Linked DNA regions of Homo sapiens: region 2 is linked to region 1. The links are contacts of gene promoters, found by promoter capture Hi-C in human tissues and cell types (Jung and others, 2019). All regions are on one chromosome and are shown on one strand. Each heading gives the region's core, a stretch centred on a gene start or on the middle of the fragment in contact. The rest is flanking DNA. Distances are from core to core; before and after follow the strand shown.

What was found. Contacts are between HindIII fragments. The study calls those that stand out against the background at their distance.
Region 2: a fragment that was not itself captured here is called in contact with the fragment with the promoter of ZIC5 in region 1 in 1 of the 25 tissues and cell types used here (dorsolateral prefrontal cortex).

The regions. Positions count from the first base shown.
Region 1 is chr13:99,967,708-99,974,131 of GRCh38, forward strand. ZIC5 (Zic family zinc finger 5) reads right to left here and starts at 4,060. Exons shown (of 2, transcript NM_033132.5): 1 at 2,420-4,060. The coding sequence starts at 3,896. The HindIII fragment of the contact is 23,774 bases long and covers 1-6,424 here.
Region 2 is chr13:99,677,102-99,683,525 of GRCh38, forward strand. All of the region lies in intron 1 of CLYBL (citramalyl-CoA lyase), which reads left to right. LOC124903199 (a long non-coding RNA gene) reads left to right here. Exons shown (of 2, transcript XR_007063848.1): 1 at 1-4,086. Among named protein-coding and RNA genes, the nearest start is that of CLYBL-AS2, 11 kb to the right of the region's middle. The HindIII fragment of the contact is 6,398 bases long and covers 1-5,807 here.

The DNA.
Region 1 (6,424 bases), core at 2,810-5,309:
AGACTCAGGAAAGGGACAGATGTCGTGGAAGGAAAGGTAGAACATTAGAGTTAAATAAAGGAAGAGGTGCACGGAGAAAACAGAAGAAAACAAGGCAAGGGCGATGGAAAGGCCTGTGTTGTTCAGGGGGCCTAAGGGGAATAAGCAAATTCTACCTAACTAGAAAGGCTGAGAGACCTCAGTGTTTACATTTAAGATTCTGATAGACGAGTCACGTCAGAATTTAACTATTTACAGAGTTTGAGAGCCTGGAGCCTGTGGGAAAGTAAGGAACTACTTGCGGACCCCGCCAGCTCCTAGCAGCTCCCTCTCCCGAGAGAGCGCGAGTCGGGCCCGCGGGACGGTTATAAACGGGACTGGGGGCACGTGGGTCAGGAAAGGGGCCTTCGGAAGTGGCCCGGGGATTAGTCCCTTTGATCAATCCGTTCCGGGATCCCGGATAACCCCCAAAAGGGAGAGCGGCGTGGCAGGGAGGGAAAGAAGTCCGGATGGGCCCTCTCAGAACACAATGTCCAATAGCTGAGCGGCCCAGGGACCGCCAGAAACACCAAGCGCGGGTTGGAGTCTGAACCCGAGGCGCCTGCGTCCCTCCCGCAGGGACCCCCACGCTCCACCGGGTGGGGCCCACGCGGCCGCCGGGAGGGGGCAGGAAATGCAACCGTCCGCGAGACGCAGAGCCAAAAACCCAAATGACCGCGGGTCCCCTCGCCGCCTGGGGTCCCCCGCGCCCCCCCCGACCCCACGCACGCGCGCGTGCCCCGGGAAGCCACCGGGGACAGTGCGCAGGGCGTGGCCTGTCCCGCCGGGGGCCCGGATCGGCTTCTGCGCCCGCAGCTCCCGGCAGCCGCCTAGGGAAGGCCGCTCCCCTCGCGAGGCCTGGGCAGGCGGGAAGGGCCCTAGGCCGCGCGCGGCCCCGCGCTTGGGAGTTCCCTTTCGGGGCCGGGCTGGGGAGCGGCTTCACGGTCCCTGGATCCTGCCCTGCCGAGAAGTGCTGGGCACAGGAGCGAGCAGCCGGCTTAGCGGGCCAGGGCGTTTTTACGAGAGCCTCCTGGGAAGTTTCTTCCTGGAAAAATCATTAAGGCGGACTGATCCCGATTAGAGAGAAAAGGGGCTCCTGGGAAAACGTGCTCCCCACCGGCCATCAGGCGGCCCGCAGGAGCCAAGCCAAGGCTCCCGCCTCGGGCCACCCCGACGCTGCTGCCCCCGCAGAGCCCCGAGCGCCCCCGGCCCGAGCGTGGGACCCGGCGGCTACCTCCTGGCCGCAGCAGCGCCGATAAATCTGCCAAGTGATTACTGAACGTAAACTCCAGTTACTTAAGTGTCCTCCGAGGGGTAATCGTATCTGTCCCTATAAATCCCGACTGCGTTCGCGCTCATCAGCGCTTCCGCCCGACGCGCTGGTCCGCTCAAAGGGGGCACACGACCCACAGGAGCCATCCACCGCCTCGCGCCGCAGCCGCCCTCCTCAGCGCTGTGGGATCCCCAGAGGCAGGGCTTGAGGTGGGGTGGGAGGGTCCCCACGACGCCGGTGGCTCCCCACCAATTCCACGACAGGGTAGGCCTCACCGATGGTGGGAGGCTCGGGTCCTCCTACAACTAGAACCTTCTCTAGAAAGGCAGATGTCAACTCCAGCACCCTCCAGGGCGAGTGTGATACTGCGTGTGAGAGGGCGCGTGGGGCGTGTAAATGATGTGAGTGTGAGGACACACAGGTGTCGCGGGAATGGGGTGCACGCGCAGGAGGATATGAGTGTGTAAAGTTGTGGGAGACGCACGCAGAAGAAGGTGTGCGTGAAGAGTGTGTCACGGTGGGCGAGTGCGAGTGGTCTCCGGGGTTCCGAAAGCGCATTCCTGTCTTCCCGGAGGGGTCCCTTCCCCTCCCGGAAGGCCTGCCTCGGGCGGCCCAAATCCGGCAGCAAATCCCACGCCCGGTCCTCGGAGCGCGGAGACTGCGCGGGGCCTACGACCCGGTGGGAAGAGAGGCGCTTGCCGGGGCGGCCCGGCCTCTCTTTCCATCGCCCTCCCAGACTTCCCAGGGCCGGGCGGGTGGGGACTGCCGACCGTCCTGGGCGCCTTCCTGCTCCAGCTGCTGCTGCGTCTGCTCCGAGGTGGCGGCGGCGGCGGCTGGCGCGCGTTGCGGGTCCCGGCCGAGGGGCTGCGGGCGCGCTGGAGACTCCGCCGTGTGGGAACCCAACGCGGGGCCTGTGTGTGCTATCGAATTACTTATTCATAGAAAAAAAAAAGGGGGGGAGAGAAAAAAAAAGAAGTCACATGTCCGGGTTATACGTATGCGAAGAGAAGCAGCAGAAGGAGAAAAAAATTAAGGCGAGCAGGAGGAGGAGGAGAAGCAGCGGCGGAAGCGGCGGCGGCGCAGGAGCTGGTGGCGGCGGCGGCGGCGCGGCCGGGGACAGACACCCACCTGTATGAGTACGCTTGTGGATCTTGAGGTTCTCGGAGCGCGCGAAGACCTTGCCGCAGCCGGGGAAAGGGCAGGGAAAGGGCTTCTCGCCGGTGTGCACGCGGATGTGGTTGATGAGCTTGTATTTGGCCTTGAAGGGCTTGCCCTCGCGCGGACAGTCCTCCCAGAAGCAGACGTGGCTGCTCTGCTCGGGGCCTCCCACGTGCTCCACCGTGACGTGATTCACCAGCTCGTGCATGGTGCCGAAAGTTTTGGAGCAGGGCTTGGCGCCGCCGGCCGGGGGCGGTGGCGGCGGCGGCGGCGGCGGCGGCGGCGGCGGCGGCAGCCCGGCCAGCTCGTCGGGGTCGATCCACTTGCAGATGAGCTCCTGCTTGATTGGCTGCCGCATGTAGCGCAGGAAGGCCCCAGCCGCCCCTGGGAGGTGGGGGTGGTGCTGGTGCGGGTGCTGCGCGGGCGCCGGCGGCGGCGGCGGCGCCGGGGGCGGCGCGTGGTGCTGCAGGTGGGGCCCGGGCCCGGCCGCTGCTGCGGCCGCCGCAGCCGCCAGGTTCAGGTTTAAGTTCACGGCTCCGTAGCCGTGCAGGGCGGCCGCCGCTGCGGCCGCAACCGCCCCGTAGTGCGCGTCCCCAGAGCGCGGCGCGAAGGGCGGTTCGGCGCGGCCGTACAGCTCAGCCGCCGCGGCTGCCGCTGCCGCCGCCAGCCCCAGGCGCATCTGGCCGTTGAGCGGGTGCGGGTGGCCGCCTGGGGCCCCCGGCGTGTCGTGCAGCGCGGGGAAGAGCGCCGGGCCGCCGCTGCCGTCCGGGCCCGCGTAGGTGCCGCTGGCGGAGATGAACATGCCGGCCGAGTGGGGAGGCGGGGCCGGGTGCTGGGGGGAGCCGGTGCCGGACCGCTGCTCCCCTCCGAGCGGGGCCCCGTGCATGGCCGCCGCGGGGGCCGTGGCGGAAAGGTCCCTCCGGAGGACGAAGTCCCTGCTGTGGCCTTTGCCGCTGCTGCCGCCGCCGCCACTGTTGGTGGTGGTGTAGCCCGAGAGGGCAGGAGGAGGAGGAGGCGGGGGAGGGGGAGGGGGTGAAGGGGTGGGAGGAAGAGGAGGGGCTGGGGGCGGGGGCGCGGAGGGCTGCGCGCCACTGCTGCCCCCGCCGCAGGGGTAGCTGCCCGCGCCGGGGTGCGCGACCAAGGCTGCAGCACGGGCGGCGGCTGCCGGAGCCTCCGGGTGTGCCGGGAACGCCTGGGAGGGAGGGCTGAGGCCCAGCGTGCTCGCCTGGGCCATGTGCTCGGGTCCGAGCGGAGTGGTGGCCACGCCGGGGTCAGCGCCCAGGTCCCGCAGGCGGAGGTGCGCGACGGCGGCCCGGAGTTGGGAGTGGGCGGGCGGGCCGGCCAGCGCCGGGAAGCCTGTCATATTCTGAAGCGGCTGGACCTGAGCCGTTGCCAAATCCGCTAATCTCAGCGCTGGCGGGTTCCTCTTGCTCAAAGGGGGCTCCATCAGAACTACACAATCAGGCCCATAGACCCTCACTGGGGGGACTTTATTCCCTCTGCCCGCCTTCAAAAACATGTATGTATTGGGCGCTCTTTAACTTCTTTTGTCCTGGCCTCTTAACTCTGCTTATTCCTGTTCCCACTCTATCCTCCAGCGATTGGCAGAGTGAACACCACATTTGAGCTGCACAGTGGGACCGAGATTTTGGAAATGGCACGGGTGGGATTGGAGGGAGCCGCGTGATTGGCAGTAGCCTCGGCTGCTCGATTGGCTCCCGTTCAGGCCCTCGACCCAGCGGGGATTCGCCCCCGTGCTTGCGGCCGCCTGCGCTTTCGCTTCGCGCCCCCTCCTCCGCTGGAGCCACACGTCCCCGCCTCCCCGGGGATGCCCAAGTTGCACTTGCAGAAAGTTTGAGCCTGGCCTGCGCGCGCAGCGCCCCGCTCTTCCTTGACGCACCTCGCGGAGCGCGCGCCGGCACGCGGGCAGAGGGCGCGGGGTGGTGAGGGGCTGAGGACCCCCGAGGGGCAGTCCCAGTTTCAAAAACCTTGGCCTCACTTCTCTGTGTGCCTTCTGGCACCCAAGTACTTTCTGCCTCTACCTCCACCTCTCTTGTGGGGTGGAAGAGCCCTGGGCTGCTGTTTGGGAGAGAAGGGTGAATAGCCCGTCCTACCTGTAGTGGTGATGCTAGAAACTTCTTGTTTGGACACCCAACCTGCCTAGCGCTCACCTAGGGCGCATAGACAGTAGACGGAGTGAAGAAGATAAAGTCTATTGGTTGCAAGACAACTTGAGTGATTTGGCTCCGCGAAACACCAGGTGAAGTCAAAATAAGTCTTTCCCCCAAAGGAACCGTTTTACCTCGACTTTTTATCTCATGGAGAGTCCTTTTCAACATGGTTCAAAGGAGTTGGATGGAAGTGTAATCTCACTACTCATCGGTTCTAGATCTGCCACTTCCAATTAGATCTACAGTAGGGGCGGGGGAGAGGAGATCGGGCAGCGATTCTAACTTTTGCCTTTCGGAGATACAGTGGCGGGGCAGGCCAAACGGCATCTCTGCAGAGAGAAGCCGCTAAATAAGCACCGTCCTTTAAGTAGAATTTCTCCTTCCGGTCCAGATCCCAGTCCACAGTCCACATGTATGCCTCAGTTTCTTTGACTGATCCACAATTAGAACTGATCCAATAAAATATTATTTTGAAATCAAGAAATATCTTTGCTTTTTATTTACTGATAGAATAATCTTTCACCTTTTTATCGTTTTCTCATAAACCAGTCTACCTCTAAGATGTCTTATTTGAAAACCATAAAAACTGGCTTTTAAAAAAGCGAATCCCATCCCTTTCCAGAGGTTTGGTATCAAATCGATTTTTTAAAAATAGAAATTCCCTGCATCACTTTTTGGTGGGCGGAGAAATGTGGGACCCTCCCCCCAAATTAAGGATTTTACTGCCCCAAAAGTGTCCTTTTCAGATTTTAAAAGAAAGCATTTTTGAAATTTGTGATGTTACAAAATGCTCAAATATTAAAGCCAGGATTTTAAAATTTGTATTTTGCTGTCATCCGTAACATTACTTGTAAAAAAAAAAAAAGTGATAATGATTAGAATGTGATCTTTTTCTTTGGGGATACAATAAAATATGTTTCCAACTTAATTCATTTGCAGTCCAAGTAAAAGTAGACTGCACAAAGCCGTTATTGGGGAGATGGCCGTGGGAAGTAATCAGAAATATTCTGAAAAGAGTTGATTCGATAGTGCCATTCACATTGGTGTGAACGATGTTTAACAGGGGGCTTCGGTATGAGACTTAGGAATGTCATTTCTTTTATAAAACTGACAAGCAAACAAAGACAATGCTACCATCAAATTTCAAATGGACTTTTTCTTTAAGTTGCAATGAAGTTCAAATATGGGGAATTAAAGGCATGTGTGGAAACACAACGAAAAAATTTTAATAAACAGCAGTAACAAAATCTTCATCTCACTTTGGAAACGACGAGTCCTTTCACAATTTTTATGTCAAAGACTTAAAACATTTCAAGCCAACCAGGCAAAGGTTGATCGAGAGCTGTGCCATCTCTATGGATAGTTTATGGAGAAAGCATCATATTTGGAATTATCACTGTCATCGTTTCCTCTCTGAACATTTCCAATGAGTTTCCTTTATTTGAATTTCTTGGCAATAAGCATTAATTCTTGCAGTAATGGCAGCTTTGGGTTCAATCCTGCAGGTTATAAGTAAAAACAAAACAAAACAAAATGAATAAAGAAAGAAGAAAATAAACACAAGCTAGCCTTTAATATGGACTGTTGAGCATTTTTATTGTGCAATAAAATGGGTACCTCCACCCCCTTCAAAATAGCTTTTCGTCAAAATTATAACTGCTTTGTTTTATTGAATTGCTGAAATTTAATGGTTTAATGGGTGAAGGCATGAAGGAAAGGCTGTAAAAATGTGAATAATGGTGTAGCAGAGCCGTGCGGAATCTGGAACCCGCCTCCTTGTACAACTCTTGTTAAACACAGCGTG
Region 2 (6,424 bases), core at 1,359-3,858, 290 kb before region 1:
GGTCATTTTTATTTTTTCTGTTCCTGGAGGTAATGCAATAAGTCACCTCAAAAAGGGCAGAGAATGAGGGAGAGAATCTACCTGCATTGGCGTATTGAAAAGATCAGATTATTTCAGAATCCAGATCATTGTTTACTTTTAGCTGCATAAAAATATCCAAGTAGATTTTCTTATAACCTCTCCAAGATAAAGATGCCAGAAACGGCAGCCAAATACATTGACTTTGAGAGAGGAAAAAAAAAAAGCTTGTAATTGCCGATCACTCCTTAGATTTACTTCTGGGGAGCATCAATTAAAAATCTCAAAACACGTGGCTTTTTCAGTAAAATTATATTAATATGGAGGAAGAGTTTTTATTAAATATGAGTGCACGTGTGTCTGTGTCTGTGTGTGTTTTAAACGTTTCCATAATGAGTTCCCAAGTGCTTTTTTGGCAGTAGTTATTAAAGCTTGTGTGTTTGCGATTTATCTGGCAAAATGCCTTTAGTGAAGAAAGGATATAGTGTTCTCTTGGTTCTTTGCCCAAAGTAATTTTGGAGAAATCTGTGACTGTATTTAGTTCATGTCATTCATTGGAGACAAGTCATTGTAATTACATTTGATCACAATCAGTTTACAGTTGTTTTATCATGTTTTCATGCTGAATATCTACTCAGACATCATAGCAAAATTTAATGGCTACTGTTTTATTTGTACATAAAAAGATTTATAGCCCTTTTTTGCAGTACACATCGGGTTTCAATCATCACTGCTACAGAGTGAGAGGAAAGCTATGGATAAAGAACTATCAGAAATCCTTGACTACATAAAATTTTATTTCAGGTCACCTTGCCATAAAAGATATTGAATGTATTTTGTGGCTTTTCCTCCTGACATGCTAACCGTTGTAGAAGAGTTGCAATATTTGGAGGAAACCGTATGAAATGTGGAACTTAATTCACTTAAGATGGTTTACATTTGCGCGTGTTTTCCACTGGAAATAGCCATGCCAGCCTTATGAATGGCCCCTGGGTAATGCAGAGTAAAAGGCAATGGCATTACCGATATTGTTGAGTTTTAAAAGGAAGTTGTCTTCTTAACCATACGGCTGAACATTTTGTCATTGTTGTTTCAGAAGGTCTGCTCTAACATCTGCACTGCGGCAGAGTTGTGTTACAGGGTGTTATTTACAGCTGCCAAATGCTGGAGGCTCTCATGTATCAGACAGTCTCTGATTTGCTAATTGTGGAAGCCTTGATTCACCAGTGAATTTGGGTAAATTCACTAGTTATCTCCTAAGTGTCACTTCTCACCATGCCTTATTTTTCCCAAAAGGTTGATTCCAAGCTCTGCTGAAATCTGCTCTTGGTCTATATGTTTGAGTCTACATTGTTGAAGAAGCTCCCTTTAGAAAAGTGTAATTAATGGGAAACTTTGACATCCAGCTGAGAAAATTAGTTTGCATCAAAAAAGGCAAGATAGAGGATTAAAGAAATTTTAGTCCTAATCTAATTAACACCAATTAAAAGATGCAGATGAATTTACACCAACAAATTGTTAATTATGCACCAATTTGCCTTTTTTCTGCAACCAAACTGAAATCAGGAAAGTATTATTATCTTTTTTGTTTGAGGAGACTTACATTGTGGGTTTGTTACAATCATCTTTTATATAATTAAAAGGTAGGCAGAAAGAGCGTGAAATATTTCAGTCTCCTGACATTTTAATTTAGGTTAACTCTTTAAAAATACAAAGTACAGAAAAAAAAAATTCCAGAAAGTACAGGATAATTCTATTAGCATTTATTCACTGACTAGATATTTATTGAGGACCTAGTATGTGCTGGACACTTAGGTAACCATTGTTTCTCTCACTCAAAATATTTTAACTTGTTTGTATTTCTAATATATTGCTCATTAGAAAAATTGTATACGCCAGGCGTGGAGGCTCATGTCTGTAATCCCAGCATTTTGGGAGGCCGAGGCGGGCAGATCACGAGGTCAGGAGATTGAGATCATCCTGGCTAACACGGTGAAACCCTGTCTCTACTAAAAATACAAAAAATTAGCCGGGTGTGGTGGCGGGCGCCTGTGGTCCCAGCTACTTGGGAGGCTGAGGCAGGAGAATGGCGTGAACCCGGGAGGTGGAGGTTGCAGTAAGCCAAGATTGCGCCACAGCACTCCAGCCTGGGCGACAGAGCGAGACTCCGACTCAAAAAAAAAAAAAAAGAAAAGAAAAAGAAAAATAGTATAAGCTAATTGTACCAAAATTGTATAAGCTAATTAAATTCTGCCCTGGATACATGTCAGAAAAGGAGAATCGAAATTTTGGGCCTCAAGAAATGCTCTTAATGTCCCAGAACTCCTCTTTAATGTGACCTTTTAGGGTATTCAGCGTCCATCTTCCTCACCCGGGGAATCTGTGTTTGTTTCCCAGTGTTACTCAGATCTCCACTGTGCTGGGACTTTCTTTTTCCTTGTGAATCACTCTTACAGCTCCTCAGATGGTGATCTGAGTAATTATGTAGAGGGTGGTGAAGCACAGACCTTTTAGATCTGCAAATGACACATCTGTCCAAATGTCATGTAATGAGTAACCACAATCCACTTTATATAAGCCATATTTCTTCTCTTTCCAAAATGGGAAGGAGAGGGTGGGGGGGGAAATGTCTGGTAGAAATGGGAAGAAAAGCATTTCTATGGATTCCTCTAGCCATTAATTACATAGAAAATGCCACAGCTGCCCTCAGATTTCCAGGTGCACGTTATTAAACGTCATTCAAAGGAAATGTTTGGCCAACTAGATCCTGATGTGAGAAACAGCATCCTAAAGAGCTATGTATGTTACTGTCTAATGCATGTACTTAGGCATTAAATAATATTAAATGACCATATTACCTTCTTGGGGCAATAGTTAATATAAACATTTAGGATGCTCAGTTTGTACTTTTCAGTATTTGTGCTGGAAACTTTTGCATTCACAACTTTGAAAACTGGCTCGTGTTTTCATGGGAAGTGTCAGTTTAAAGTTGGCCTACTAATTAATGGGGGAATTTCAATATGGCAGTGCCTATGACAGCAAATGAAAAGCATTCTTTATAAACATCGTCTTCCTCCACACATTCACAGGTTAGTATCTGACACCCATTTTTAATTTCTAGAGCACCATTTGTACTTCTCTGTGGTTTTGCCTGCAAGTCTTCGATGATGCAGTCCACCCTTCCATAAAAACGTACTCCAATTTTCCTAGATTCTACTTTCATTGTTTTGTGAATCAAGTTAGAAGGTACATAACTTAGCCTGATGAGATGGCATTCATAAGGTTAGGATAGCAGAGTTGCCTAACTAATCTTCCTGTTGCAATGAAATAAAAGAATGATATCTAAGTTGACCAACCTTGTAAAAGGTAATTTTACAAGAGGCCTCCAAAAATAACGGACTAGGACTGGCCAGAGAAGAAAATAAACCCCTCATCCTCAATCCAGAACCCAGAGTTTGTCATCACTAGTCGAAAAGCTTGTTTGTTTTATACCTAAGTGAGACCTTGAGTTATCCAATGTGCTTCCATCACAGAATGGCCCACCAGGGTAGAAGGATTCTGAGTGTATTCCCTGATGCTGTTGCCATGTGCCTATGGAATACCTATGCTCCATATTTAGCCCTCTTTCTGTGTAGTAGCAGAGACGTGGATGGCTGCTGAAACTAAGGGCCCAGTCTTTGGCCTTAGGACAGACCACTGGGTTTCTCCCACTGCCTAAAACCTTAGTAGCATTAGCATCAGACATGGACCCAATAAACAAACTACCTAGTTGATAAGCGCCGCATTTTTCATGATGTTTTACTGTGGCCTATCCACACACTCTTTCCTATTCCATGAAAGGAAGAAAAAGATAATTTGAGTTGTCCTATAAATTAAAATTTTTCCTTTGTGATTATTTTGGACCAGCGCCATAACATTCAGAAGATTATGAGTGGAGTCTTTAGTCTGTGAACAAAGTCCTAAGAAGGAAGTAGTGCTGTAACTTACTTCATCTAAAGAAGCATCATCGCTGAATGTAAAGAGTGATTCTGGATTGGATCTTAAGCCGGAAAAATAAATGGAGATAAAGTACGTTATTGGGATAATTTGTGATATTTAAATAAGGCCTGTAGAATAGATACTAGTATCGTACCCATGTTACATTTTCTGATTTGGATAATTGCAATAAAGTTGTGTAGGAGAGTGTCCTTGGTTTGGGGAACCATTTAAGAGTATAGGGGCACAATGAATATAACTTACAGATGGTTCACGGAAAAAATACAGGTGCATACTATATAAAAATAAATTTATATCTGCATATATTATGCATATCTACCTATCTATATCTGTATTTATACATATGGAGAGAGAGAGACCAAGAGAGACAGAGAGAGCAGTAATGATAAAGAAATGTGGCAGAATGTTAGTGCTAACAGTTGGTAAGACTGGGTAAGGAGAATTCAGGAATTATTTAGCTATCCTTGCATTTTTATTTTTATTTTTTTTGAGACAGAGTCTCCCACTGTCACCCAGGCTAGAGTTCAGTGGCACGGTCTCGGCTCATTGCAACCTCCACCTTCCGGGTTCAAGCGATTCTCCTGCCTCAGCCTCCTGAGTAGCTGGGGTTACAGGCATGTGCCACGACGCCTGGTTACTTTTTGTATTTTTAGCAGAGACGGGGTTTCACCAGTTGGCCAGGCTGGTCTCAAATTCCTGACCTCAAGTGATCCACCTGTCTCGGCCCCCCACAGTGCCAGGATTACAGGTGTGAGCCACCACTCCCTGCCTCCTTGCATCTTTTCTGTTAGTTTCAGATTACAGTCATGTGTCACTTAACAATGAGAATACGTCTTGAGAAATGCATCCTTAGGCAATTTCATCGTTGTGCTACCATCACAGAATGTATTTCCACAAACCTAGATGTTACAACCTACCGCACACCTAGGCTGTGTGGTATGGCTTATTGCCCCTCTGACATAAACCTACACAACATGTAGCTACTGAATACTGTAGGCAATTGTAACACAGTGGTAAGGATTTCTTTTCTTTTCTTTTTTTTTTTGGAGACAGAGTCTCGCTCTGTCGCCCAGGCTGGAATGCAGTGGCGCAGTCTCGGCTCACTGCGTCCTCCACCTCCTGGGTTCAAGTGATTCTCCTGCCTCAGCCTCCTGAGTAGCTGGGACTACATGCGCCTGCCACCATGCCTGACTAATGTTTGTATTTTTAGTAGAGATGGGGTTCCAACATATTGGCCAGGCTGGTTTCGAACTCCAGACCTTGTGGTCTGCCCACCTTGGCCTCCCAAAGTGCTGGGATAACAGGAGTGAGCCACCGCGCCCAGCCAGGGGTAAGGATTTCTATATCTAAACATATATGAACAGAAAAAGGGTACAGTAAAAATACTGCATAAAAGATTTAAAATGGAACACTCACAGAAGGCTCTTACCATGAATGGAGCTTGCAGGACCTCATGTTGTTCTGGGTGAGTCAGTGAGTGAGCAGTGAGTGAATATGAAGGCCTAGGACATTACTGTCACTACTGTAGACTTTGTAAACACTATATACTTAGACTATACTACATTTATTAAAAAAAACAAAAAACTTTTCTTCAGTAGTAAATTAACCTTAGCTTACTATAACATTTTTTTTTTCTTTTGAAACGGAGTCTCATTCTGTCACCCAGGCTGGAGTACAGTGGCGTGATCTTGGCTCACTGCAATCTCAGCCTCCCGAGTTCAAGTGATTCTTCTGTCTCAGCCTCCTGAGTAGCTGGCACTACAGGCACCTGTCACCACGCCCGGCTAATTTTTGTATTTTCAGTAGAGACGGGGGTTTCGCCATGTTGGCCAGGCTGGTCTCGAACTCCTGACCTCAGGTGATTCACCCACCTCGCCCTCCCAAAGTGCTGGGATTACAGGTGTGAGTCACCACACCTGGCCCAACTTTTTACTTTATAAACTTTATATATATATATATGTTTTGTTTTGTTTTGTTTGTTTTTGAGATGGAGTCTTGCTCTGTCACCCAGGCTGGAGTGCAGTGGCACAATCTCAGCTCACTGCAACCTCTGCCTCCCACGTTCAAGCAATTCTCCTGCCTCAGCCTCCCAAGTGGCTGGGCTTGCAGGTGCCCCCCCCTACACCAGGCTAATTTTTGTGTTTTTAGTAGAGACATGGTTTCACCATTTTGGCCAGGCTGGTCTCGAACTCCTGACCTTGTGATCCGCTCACCTCAGCCTCCCAAAGTGCTAGGATTACAGGTTTGAGCCATCACGCCTAGCCTGTAAACTTTGTTTATATTTTTAACTTTATGACTCTTTTATAGTAACAGTAAGTTTAAAACACACATTGTACAAAAATATTTCCTTTATCTCTTATTCTATATGCTTTTTTATATTTTTAATTTTTATTTTTTATACTTTTTGAAC